2 separate regions of the Homo sapiens genome follow, and region 1 is linked to region 2. Evidence: promoter capture Hi-C in 16 types of primary human blood cells and fetal thymus (Javierre and others, 2016). All regions are on one chromosome and are shown on one strand. Each heading gives the region's core, a stretch centred on a gene start or on the middle of the fragment in contact. The rest is flanking DNA. Distances are from core to core; before and after follow the strand shown.

The links. The method cuts DNA at HindIII sites, captures the fragments that hold promoters and counts their contacts. A CHiCAGO score of 5 or more calls a contact.
Region 1: the fragment with the promoter of RHOC here is called in contact with the fragment with the promoter of SIKE1 in region 2 in 1 of 17 cell types (total CD8 T cells); the score reaches 5.4 in total CD8 T cells.

The regions. Positions count from the first base shown.
Region 1 is chr1:112,703,208-112,709,338 of GRCh38, forward strand. RHOC (ras homolog family member C) reads right to left here and starts at 3,920. Exons shown (of 6, transcript NM_175744.5): 1 at 3,871-3,920; 2 at 1,893-1,961; 3 at 437-599. The coding sequence starts at 592. RefSeq lists enhancers at 1,029-1,583, 2,331-2,380 and a silencer at 3,640-4,359. The HindIII fragment of the contact is 12,151 bases long and covers 945-6,131 here.
Region 2 is chr1:114,776,636-114,782,215 of GRCh38, forward strand. SIKE1 (suppressor of IKBKE 1) reads right to left here and starts at 4,050. Exons shown (of 5, transcript NM_025073.3): 1 at 3,814-4,050; 2 at 3,475-3,580; 3 at 2,507-2,649. The coding sequence starts at 3,972. RefSeq lists enhancers at 3,236-3,802, 3,803-4,368, 3,833-4,072, 4,313-4,432. The HindIII fragment of the contact is 3,666 bases long and covers 1,508-5,173 here.

The DNA of each region.
Region 1 (6,131 bases), core at 2,670-5,169, 2.1 Mb before region 2:
TGAACTTCTTTATTTGAGCACCTGCTATGCACCAGGCATTATATTAATCACTGTCCCACAACATAAATTAGGTCAGTTTGTTAAAGAAATCTAAGACGTGTTTGACCCTTGAGTTGCCACTGTGAGCACCATTATTTTGGTTAATTCTCACAACAACCCTTTGAGGGAGGTCTTACCATCATCCCCATTTTGCAGGTGGGGGAGCTTAAACCCAGAGGCAAAGGGACTCGGCCCAGGTTACAGAGCCAGTCTGTGGGAGAACCAGAAAGTATATCCAGGTTTTTTAAGACTGCAGATTTACTTCCTAACTTTTACTGGTTCCAGCAGGGAGAATGAAGCAAAGACAGGGGTAGGAATGGGGAAGGACATACTAGGTCATTCAGTGACTGGGGGGCGGGGTCTCAGGGTGGGGTGGGAAGGGCATTTCTGCCTTCACCTGCTTGCCGTCCACCTCAATGTCCGCAATATAGTTCTCAAAGACAGTAGGGACGTAGACCTCCGGAAACTGATCCTTGCTGAAGACGATGAGGAGGCAGGTCTTCCCACAGGCACCATCCCCAACGATCACCAGCTTCTTTCGGATTGCAGCCATGGTGGGGCTGCCAGGAAAGACGTATTGGGGATTTGAGGAAAAGCCATTAAGTCCAAAAACACTTCTCTAGGGCCCCCAAACCTCCCTGGAAACCGAGGCATCTAGCAAAGGGACAGGGGGCTTGCTCAGGCATGTTCTGGCAAAACACCAATTGTGCGACAACAGAGCTTGAAATTCCTAATCTCTGGGTCAGGGACAGGTCTCCCTCGATGGGTTAGAATACAGTGGTGGGAGGTAGATGATGACCCCACTTGGGAGCTGGAAAACATGAGTTTCAATCTAATCCACTTGCCAACCTGGGGACTCCAGGTAGCTAGAGAGCTGCTCAGGGATGCGGGACGTCCAGGGAGCAAGCTTCTATCTACTTCACACATCAGGGTTTCGAGTCAGACTTCATTGGTTACCAGGATTTTGATGCATTTACAGTTTAATAATCTCTAAGGTCCAATCTAGAACAGACTGTCCCTCAGCACAAGTCATACCTGTCCAGTCACAAATGAGGAGTCCCTCTCTAGGACCAGAGTAGCAGAACCAGCTACCAGGTGGTAGGTGGGTAAAGGAAGAATAGTTATAGAGCCCCTAGGTGCCAGGCACTCTGTCGGGCATTTTGGCAGGAATTATCTCCTTCGGTACCCAGATGCCTGGAAGGTAGATGGTGCACTTTCCATTTTGACAAACCAGGAAACTAAGGCTCAGTGAGGTTAAGACAGATTCAGAGCTGTGGCTTATAAGGGGCAGGGACAGCACCCAAAGCAGGACTGTGTGACTCAAAGTCGTGCCTCTTCGACATGTCACCTCAGGGGCAGGAGGGAGAGCAGAAGCAGGGAAACCCAGACAGAGGACAGGGGTAGCAGCCAGCCAGCTTCCCTGGTCCACCCCACCCGGTCCCCAAAGCCCCAAGTAATACAAAGGAGGCTCAGTCCCAGCAATGCCCACAGCTCGAGTTTGGGCAGGCTGCCTTCCTCCCCCCTTCCTCCTAGGCCTGCCAGCAACACTGGGTCACTCAGCCCCCGGCAGGGGACAATGACCACACTGTAGGGAGCCACACATCTACCACAGCACAGTGACTGAGAAGAATCCACCAGGGAATCACCTCCACCCACTCTGGAACAGCCCCTTCCTCCCTCAGTCCAGCTCACCCGCATGCCCTGCCCACCCCTCCCTGTGACTCAGGGCAAGGAGTCAGCTTCCCGGGCTTCCATGTGTCCCCCACCCCCAGCACACACAGCGAGCATCTGCACAGTTCATCACACCTTCGCAGCTTCCCTCACTTCCTCCTTCCCTGGGGAGGGGAACTGACCTCCAGCCGGCTGAAGTTCCCAGGCTGCAGGAAGAGAGGGCGGGCTCTGGAGCTGAGATGAAGTCAAGGCTGTTGGGAAGGGGGAGGGGGCTAGAGTCTGGGCTGGGAGGAGCCCCAAAAGAAGAGACAAATGAGGGCCAGTCCCAGCACCAACCAGGCAGGGAGCAGTTAAGAAAGCGACGGTAACCTGATCTCAGCCTCAAACCTAGCTTTTTCTCTCAGTCCCACATCCTGTCAAACTGGGCTGACTGAACGCCTCTACTCCCCACACCCCACCACCACCTCACACTGCCCTTTAGGAAGCGAATACTCCAGCCCCAGGCCTCTTCCCTTCAACATAGATCCTGAGTGGCCCTTCCCTTGCCTCCAGACACATTCACAAAACTGTTGGTTTTGTGGACATGAGTCAGAGAATTTACAGGAGTTCAAAGTACACAGCCACACTCTTCCCACCACAAAACGGACTCTCTCTGATTCCCCAGAAGACAAGCAAGAAGGCATTCACCCTGTCGGCAGATCGCCTCCAGAAATGGAAACCATCCTCCAAAAAGAGGGTTCCTTGGGAATTCTATCCCGGTGACTGACGCTGGGATTTCTTCCAACTCCTCCACCCACTCCATTAGTTCACCTTGCCCTGTTTTGTAAAGATGGGCTGGGGTAGCCCCAACCTGGGGTGGGCAGTGTTGATGGAGGGCAATCACTACTGGGGTGAAAGCCAGTCACTTAGGCATGAGTATGCCACTGCTGTCCCCCCAGCAGGGTAATTCAGACGGCACCAGAGTGGTGGGAGGCAGAGGACAGAAACCCGGGGTTGAGGCATGCGTTAAGGGACCTGGAGCCTCCAGCCCAATTAGAAGACTTTCCCTCCAGGCTATGATTGGGCCAGAACAGCAGGCAGCCCAGGCCAGGACACTAGGCCCAAGGCCAAGATGGCATGGACAACTCCCTGTGAGAGGCAGCCCCAGAGGGACTGTCCCACTGACCCCTTAAGAGGGGCAACTGAGCCCCACACAGGGCCTGGAATGGAGCCTGGAACTTCTGGGGCCTTCCCCAAGACAAGACAGTGTGGCTACATCAGACCTCTCTCCAATCGCTCTCTTGAATTCCCAGATGATCCAGAGCGGCCGGTTGACTTTGCCGGCCCACCCTACACCTAGGGAAGGAATCCGTTCTGGAGATACCAAGAGATACTGCATTCTCAACTTTAAAACCAGAGTGAGGGCGGGACTCGGCCTCGGGATCCCAGTCCCAAACCCCAGGATACTCTTTCTTGGTTCGAGTATGAAGAAGGAGGATTCTCAATCTCATTTTCTCTCTCTCTCTCTCTCTCTACACACACACACACACACACACACACACACACACCACACACACACACACACACACACACACACACACACACACACACACACACACACACACACACACACACACACACAGAGTTGGATCCTTCCCCATCTCCCTTATCCTCAACACAAGCGGGCTCCAGGAACCGTCCAGGGCGGCGTCCAGACCCTGCCGAGCAGTGGCAGGCCCCAATGGTCACATCCCGCCCCTATTCCCGCCATACCTCCCTCCTGGCCTGGAGGAATTCCCACCCCATCCCACTCTAGGTCCCCTGCGGCCGCCCACCCTGGGGGCTGGGGCGTCTGAGTTGAAGTTCCCTCGCCCCTCGCCCGGCGGGGCAGGTTCCGGGAAGCTGGGAGGAGAAGGGAAGGGGCTCCGACTCGGACCTCAGGAGGCCAGAGCCCCTGCCGGCAGGTCCGGGCCCCCTCGCTGCAGCCCGGGGAGGGGCCGACGCGGTCCGACCACCGCCCAGCCCGGATGCCGACTCCGCTTGGAGGGAACGGGGTCCACGCCCAGGCCGAAGCCCCTCCTCGCACGGGCCCCGATCTCCGGGCCAGCGAGGAAGGGAAAGTGCTCTCCTGGGGACGAGTTCCCAAGACGCCCCACCGCCCGCAGCCCCGGCCCAGGGTACCTTCCGCTCCGCCGCCTCCAGCTGCGCGGCCGGTGCCGGAGGCTCAGACTGACCCCAGGGCCCCGCCCCGCCCTCCTCCAGCGCCGCGGCGGGGAGGGCGGGCCCGGCAGGGGGAGGGTCGGCCGGGGGCGGCCCTTGGCTCGGCCCGCCCCGGCCCCGCGCAGGGCCGCAGCCACCGGCCCCCTCCGCAGGCCGGGGACTGGGGGCCAGGGGCGTCCACCCCTCCAGGTCGGGGAGAGCCACGGGGAGATTCCTGGACTGCGGAGGAGCCGGGCGAGCGGGGGGAGCACGACCCGGGTGGACTCAGACTCTGCCCAGCCTTCAATCCCCTAGGGGAGGACCGGCGTCGGGAAAGTTAAGAGGTGCTCGGGGTGGGGTCAGGAAGGGCCGCTGCTGCCCTCCTGTGGCCAAGCGGCCACCCGCTCCTGCTGCACCTGGGACCTCGCGGGAAGCGGGACTGGGAAAGGGTATCCGCCGGGAGGTCCCAGGGCCCGGCGCGGGTGTGTTGGTTGGGGGGAGATGTCCACCCTCTTGTTCCTAGGATCGTACAGCCCAACGTCATCCCCCAAACTTGAAGACCTCTCAGAGCCGTTCAGACCCAGACCACCGTTCCTCCTCACAATTCGCTTTCTTCCCTGGGCCTGGAATTTCCAGGAGTCCAATTCCTACCTACTCCTCAAAGGGTGCGCCTAGAAATGCTTCTGGATCCCAGCTGTGAATTCTGTTCCCACTCCTAGGTCTGACTTGGCGCATAGGATATTTACCTACACGCGTATCTCCTTTCCCTGTAAGGGAGCTGAGGAGGTGGGAGTAGAATGAGGACGTCCACCAACATTTCATTGGCTTGTGCTTGGGACACTACACAGCTTAACCCTTTCAATATTCATCACAGATCTCTGGGGAAAATATACCCATCCCCTTTTGCCCATAGAGAAGCTGAGGTTCAGAGAAATCAAGTGGCTTACACAACTGTTTTTGACTTGTGACAGCAAGAATTCACACAGCCGGGCCTGTCTGGCTCCAAACTGGTGGTCTGGCCCTGCTACCTCACGGGCTCCTCCAGCCTGTCCCTTCCCCCGTTGTCTAGCAGAGTGAGTGGCACATAATAGGTTGTCAACAAATATTTGATGAATGAATGAATGTTAGGAGTCATACAGACTTTAAATATCTGAAGTGCAATCCAGACATTTGACAAATGTGAAAACAGGTCCGCAGCAGTTTGGCCCCAGGCCTCTTAACTGACTCAATGAACATTTCTCGAGGGTGAACTGAGAGCTATGTTCGGAAGATCCATTTCTGCCTTCAAACAACTTAGAGTCTAAATGAGGAATGCAATTTCAAGATAGCTAACATTTATTGAATCCATATTACATGGACCTGGGTCCACATACATTAACTACAAGAATCCCATGAGGTAGCTATCTCCATTTTACTGAGAAGCAAATTGAGGTTCAGAGAGGTTACAGAGCTAGTGCTGGGTCTGACACTAGAACCCAAACAGCTGAACTCTAGAGCCCCTGTTCTTAATTCCTACTCCCTACTGACTCCTAATGTAGACAGTTACAATACCGGAGGTCATTGCTGTAGTGTGGGCATGTGTGGGCTGTGCGATACCCAGTCCTGAACAACAGGTGAAGTTCTCAAGATAAGGTGATGTGTAGATTTTTTTAATTTTAATTTTTTTTTGAGACAAGGTCTCTGTTGCCTAAGTGTGCAGTGGCAAGATCTCAGCTCACTGCAGCCTCAACTTTCCAGGCTCCAATGATTTTCCCACTTCAGCTTCCCCAGCAGCTGAGACTACAGGCGTGTACCATCACACCTAATTTTTGTATTTTTTGTACAGATGAGGTCTTGCTATATTGCCCAGGCTGGTGAGGGGCCTTTTCTAATTATTTTGCTCATCTTTATTTTTGCTTCCCTTAACTTACTTTGGGTTTAATTTGCTGTTCTTTTTCTAGCCTCTTAAGGTGGAAACAGATCACTGATTTGAGATCTTTATTCTTTTCTACTATAAGCAATACTCTTAATTTCCTTGGATGCTTAACTGCTTCCCACAGGCACTCACCACTACATTCAGCTAATTTTTTATTTTTTTGTAGAGATGGGGTCTCACTATTGCCCAGGGTGGTCTTAAACTCCTGGGCTTAGCAGTCCTCTCACCTCTGCCTCCCAAAGTGTTGGGATTACAGGCGTGAACCACCGTGTCCAGCAGTAGATTTTGAATAAGTTGGAGCTACTAAAAGCCCACAGTTATGCAAACC
Region 2 (5,580 bases), core at 2,800-5,299:
GTATTCACGGATATTTTTTTTTTTTTCTTTCAAAAAATCAATTGTGGAAGACAGTGTGGTGATTCCTCAAGGATCTAGAACTAGAAATACCATTTGACCCAGCAATCCCATTACTGGGTATATACCCAAAGGATTGTAAATCATGCTACTATAAAGACACATGCACACATGTTTATTGCGGCACTATTCACAATAGCAAAGACTTGGAACCAACCCAAATGTCCATCAATGATAGACTGGATTAAGAAAATGTGGCACATATATACCATGGAATACTATGCAGCCATAAAAAAGGATGAGTTCATGTCCTTTGTAGGGACATGGATGAAGCTGGAAACCATCATTCTGAGCAAACTATCACAAAGACAGAAAACCAAACACCGCATGTTCTCACTCATAGGTGGGAATTGAACAATGAGAACACTTGGACACAGGGTGGGGAACATCACACACCGGGGCCTGTCATAGGGTTGGGGGAGTGGGGACGGATAGCATTAGGAGGAATACCTAATGTAAAGGACGAGTTAATGGGTGCAGCACACCATCATGGCACATGTATACATATGTTAACAAACCTGCACGTTTTGCACATGTACCCTAGAACTTATTTAAAAAACAAACAAAAAAAAGGCCTCCTTAAGGGGATCCTCATTCCAGTTGTATATGTTCTATTGATACCACTACTAAGGAATACAGTTTTTTAAAATATATATAATGTTTCTTATATTTAAAACCAAGAAGTGAAGAGTAGAATGCATTTTCTGTTTTCGCTCTTTGCCCAGACATCAAGTTGATAATCATATGGTTATCTGTGATATGCATCAGCTCATAAGTAACCCTTTGGTATGTGAACATGGGGAATTTTAAAATACTGGGCTCTTCAATATGGATTTGTGTTACACTCATGTCATCATCTCATGCCTTCCAAGATTTCAAAGGATCTGATGGCTGTAATTGCAGAGAATAAATGAGTAATCTTTAGTCTATTTCAGAAATAGAAGGCCACATGATTCCCTTTCCATAAAGGACTAAGGTTTCATCCAATGCCAACTCTGGTAAGGCCTTAGTCATTTTTGTGGGTGAAATCTGATTCGATGCAAGCAATGTTATTTTCATTTCTGAAAATTATCTATGTCCAGTGCATCAATCCCCCAGTAGGTCCACACTCCAATAAAAAGATTTGAAATGGAAAAAAAAAATCAATTGTAGTTTAACTACCCATTGGATGTTGGATACTATCTCTAAGTGGCTGTTTAACTTAAATTTGAATACTTTTACTGGCAGGAAGCTTACTACATTCCAAGGTGCTTTATTCCATCTTTGGACATATCACTTAGAAAGTTTATCTATCTGAGTAAACTCTGTCTCTTTCAAGGTTCAAGTTTTTTCCTCCATACGAGAAGAAAATCTATTTTTCTCTTCCAGATGAAAGCCATTCAAATATTTAAAATATCTGTTTCCTAAAACTTTTAAGTCAGTAAAATGCATTCAATGGAATTTAAGATGAAGCTTATATTTCACTACATCTCACAGAAGTAGTAGGCTCCAACCCTATACATCTAGAATTAAATGATACAGTACACAAGAATGTACAATGACAACCATGAAGCACCTATAAACATAAGAACAATTACTGAGTCTCCCAAATTAGCAAAGAACAGAAACTATGCCATGTTTGTTTTTTTAAAAAACCATACTTCTCTCCCCTAACAACATAGTATGATACTATGTGGTTCAGTTTATAAAAGGTTTACTGACTGCCTGCTGTATGTCAGGTACTATGTTAGGAATAAAATGTGAATTCATGCGCCTTACAAGCAAGGAGCTTAAGTTAAATGTATAAGTAATAACCAACCAAGTGTTTACCAGGCAGCTTCAACACTAACTGGCATTATGTTTGGTGGGAGCGCTAAGAATTAATGAACATTTTCAAAAGAGATCTTGGTGAGGGAGGGGGAACCTTAGTCCCACTCAAATAAAAGGATCTGAGCAGCCCCTATCCTCCTTCTTTCTATTCATATCTTTACAAAGCCATGGCAAAATAAACAACAAATGTGATAAACATGAAAGGAAAATGAGCTTACTTTTCTTCAAAAACAAGCACACATGGCCAGGCGCAGTGGTTCATGCCTATAATCCCAGCACTTTGGAAGGCTAACGTGGGTGGATCGCTTGAGCCCAGGAGTTTCAGACCAGCCTGGGCAACATGGCGAAATGTCATCTCTACCAAAAAACAAACAAACAAACAAACAAACAAACAACCCCACAAAAATTAACAGGGCGTGGTGGTGTGCACCTGTAGTCCCAGCTGCTCCGGAGGCAGAGGTGAGACGATGGCTTGAGCCCAGGAGGCAGAGGTTGCAGTGAGCCGAGATCGTGCCATTACACCACGGCCTGGTCGACAAGAGCCAGACCCTATCTCACAAAGCAAAAAAACAAGCACACAATCTAAAACAATCTCAAGATTTCAATTTGGTTCATTTCGAATTTATTCAAAGTTTCTTACTGCAGAGTGAGACTGGTGAGCTTTCAGGACTGGTTCAGCATCCACCGCTTTTTTAGCAACCATTAACTGTAACATCTGTTTCCGATATTTGCTCATGATAAGTTCCAAAGCATCCTGGTGTTCCTCCAAGGAAATCCATAGCTCTGTCAAAAAATAAAAGAACTTGGCAGTGATGTCTGAGAGACAGTTCCCAAATCCAAAGTCTTAACAGTTGGAATTTTGTAACACTATATAGATAATATGAATCTAAAGTTGTAAATCAATGTTTAAGTCCGCAAAACTGAACAGTTAAAGTCTATGTGAAAGGTAACTTTCTAGGCAGAGAAGCAAAGTCTTGCAGAAACAACAATGGATGTATCATCAGAAGACATGTGTTTGAGTTCAGTTCTGTAACTTGCTTGGTTAATACTCATAAGTAAATCATTTAGCTTCTTCTGAGCCTATTTCTTAACTGCATTGTGGTAGATAAAAATGAAGATATGAGAATACAGTAGAATGATATATGTGAAACCCCTCTGGTAAACAACTATTAATACCACAATCATTAATAATGTACTAATCAAGCCTAAGAATATATACCCTTAGAATAAAATTCTGCTGCTTCACCTTGCACAAACAAGAACATAAACAAAACCTTAAATCTTACCTTCAGTGTTTATATTAATACTTAAACATTAAATTTTAAGTCCATGAGGCTATGAACTCTTTTGTTACACATCTGAGGATGCTTAAAAATAAACCATGCAATAATACCAACTCTACACAGCACCTCTTTGGTAAGCTGCTGCAATATTAGTCAGATGACCTTGAAAAGGGTAATCTAACAAACTTTATTGTTACTGGGCCAGATCAGGAGGACTCTCCTACTAAAAGTACTGACCTGGAAATATATGTACACTTTTGTAAATGTTTAGGGCAATTTTGCAATAACTTTAAACTATTACCAGATATGAAAAGGCCTGACTAACCTCTGTTTTCCTGTTGCAAGTCTCTAATCTGTGTGTTCTCTTGGGACAGCAGAATGTGAGGTTTGTATTTGGACATGTCCTTCATATCGGATGCATCCTCTTGATACTGGACAAATAGAGACAGACTAAGCATGCCTTAAAGAGAACAGCGGCAGATGCAACTGAAGAGGCAGAAGTTAGGGCTCCAGGGCAGGATTCTCAGCCCCGACCCAGGAAAATGGTCTCACCGCCGCCCTCTGAGACCGGGAATAAATTCCAGGCCGAGTTCCCACTTTACCTCGCTCTCCACCCTTCAGTGCCCAGAATCCGAGAGCACTGGACTCCTACCCTCTGCCTGACCTGGTCCGGAAGCGCTGTCCCCGCCTCCCGCATAGCTGCTACCCGCCGGTGCAGCGCCGCCGACTGATCCACCAGCGACTCGGCGGCCGCATCGTGCTCCCGTAGCCTCTCCAGCAGCGTCTTGGCGTCTGTCAGGATCTTCTCGATGGTGCAGCTCATAGCAGCAGCACCACCCCAGCCCCTGCCGGGCTCAGCTACGCGACTCGCTCAGATCTTCTGGGAGTCTGTCTCAGCATTACAGGCGTCATTTCCGGGCACGTTTACAAGGTGTCTTGGTAGGCGCAATGGGCGCCTGCGCAGTGGCAGCCTATTTTGCGGGTTGACCCGCTTTAACCTGCGGCTTCCTTGCAGTCCTTCCTTGCGCGGAGCCCCAGACCTACACTTGCCACGCCGTTGGTTTCCAGTTACCACAGCCTGGTGGTCAGGCTATGATTAGCTGGGCAGTGGGAAGGTCTCCTTTCCCTACTGGTTTTCATTGATGTGGGTTGTTCTTCAGTCACAGTTAGTTTCTTTTTATTTTCATTATTTTTTTCTTTTTTGAGACGGAATCTTGCTCTTGTCCAGGCTGGAGTGCAGTGGCGCGATCTTGGCTCATTGCAACCTCTGCCTCCAGGGTTCAAGCGATTCTCCTGCCTCAGCCTCTCGAGTAGCTGGGATTACAGGCATGCGCCACCACGCCGGCTGATTTTTCTATTTTTAGTAGAAACGGGGTTTCACATGTTGGCCAGGCCGGTTTCGAACTCCTGACCTCAAGTGATCCGCCCGCCTCGGCCTCCCAAAGTGCTGGGATTACAGGTGTGAGCCCCCGCGCCTGGCCTACTTTCATTTAATTTTTTTTAAATTGTGGCAAAATACACATAAAATTTAATATCTCAGCCATTTATAAGTGTACAGTTCAGTTGTACATTCATATTGTTATACAGCCACCATCAGCATCCATCTCTAGAACTCTTTCATCTTGCAGTACTGAAGTTCTGTACTCATTAAACAATAATTCCTCATTCTTCCTTATCCCCAGCTCCTGGCAGCCACCATTCTACTTTGTGTCTCTACAAATCTGACTATTCTGGGTACCTGACATGAGTGAAATCATACAGCATTTGTATTTATATAACTGCCTTATTTCACTTAGTGTAATGTCCACGAGTTTCATCCATATAGTAGCATATGTTAGAATTTCCTTCCTTTTTAAGGCTGAATAATATATATATACCACGTTTTGTTTATCCATTCATCCGTGGATGGACAGTTGGGTTGCTTCCACCTTTTGCTATTGTCAATAATGCTGCTATTGCAACTGGCTCACGTCTGGCTGCTTGCTGCCTAGAGGCCAAAAACATGAGAAGTGACCTGTGGTGAAAGCTTTACTAATCAAATGCTCGCAGATGGGGAATGGCTAGGCTCATGCCTTCAAAACAGCATTCCACTTTTTTTTTTTTTTTGGTCAAGGTATCCCAGAGACAGTATCAGTGTCCAAACTTTAATTTTGTCCCATATCAATGCCAGGGTGGTGTGCTACCTGCCCTGAGTCCATCATGTCCCTCCTGCGGCCAACTGACTTAGAGTCAAAAGAGTTACAGCCAATTAAACGTTCTAGGTCAGATGGGAAGGAGGTGGGCAGGCACTCATTAACCTTAAAACCCCTCTTAAGCAATGTTAAGAGGCAAAAACCAAAAGGCAAGGGTTACAAAATTGACTTATCTATAAATTCTATGCATTGAGCTGCTGTAATCTTGGCTTGTTGCAATTAGCTATACAAAATGCAAG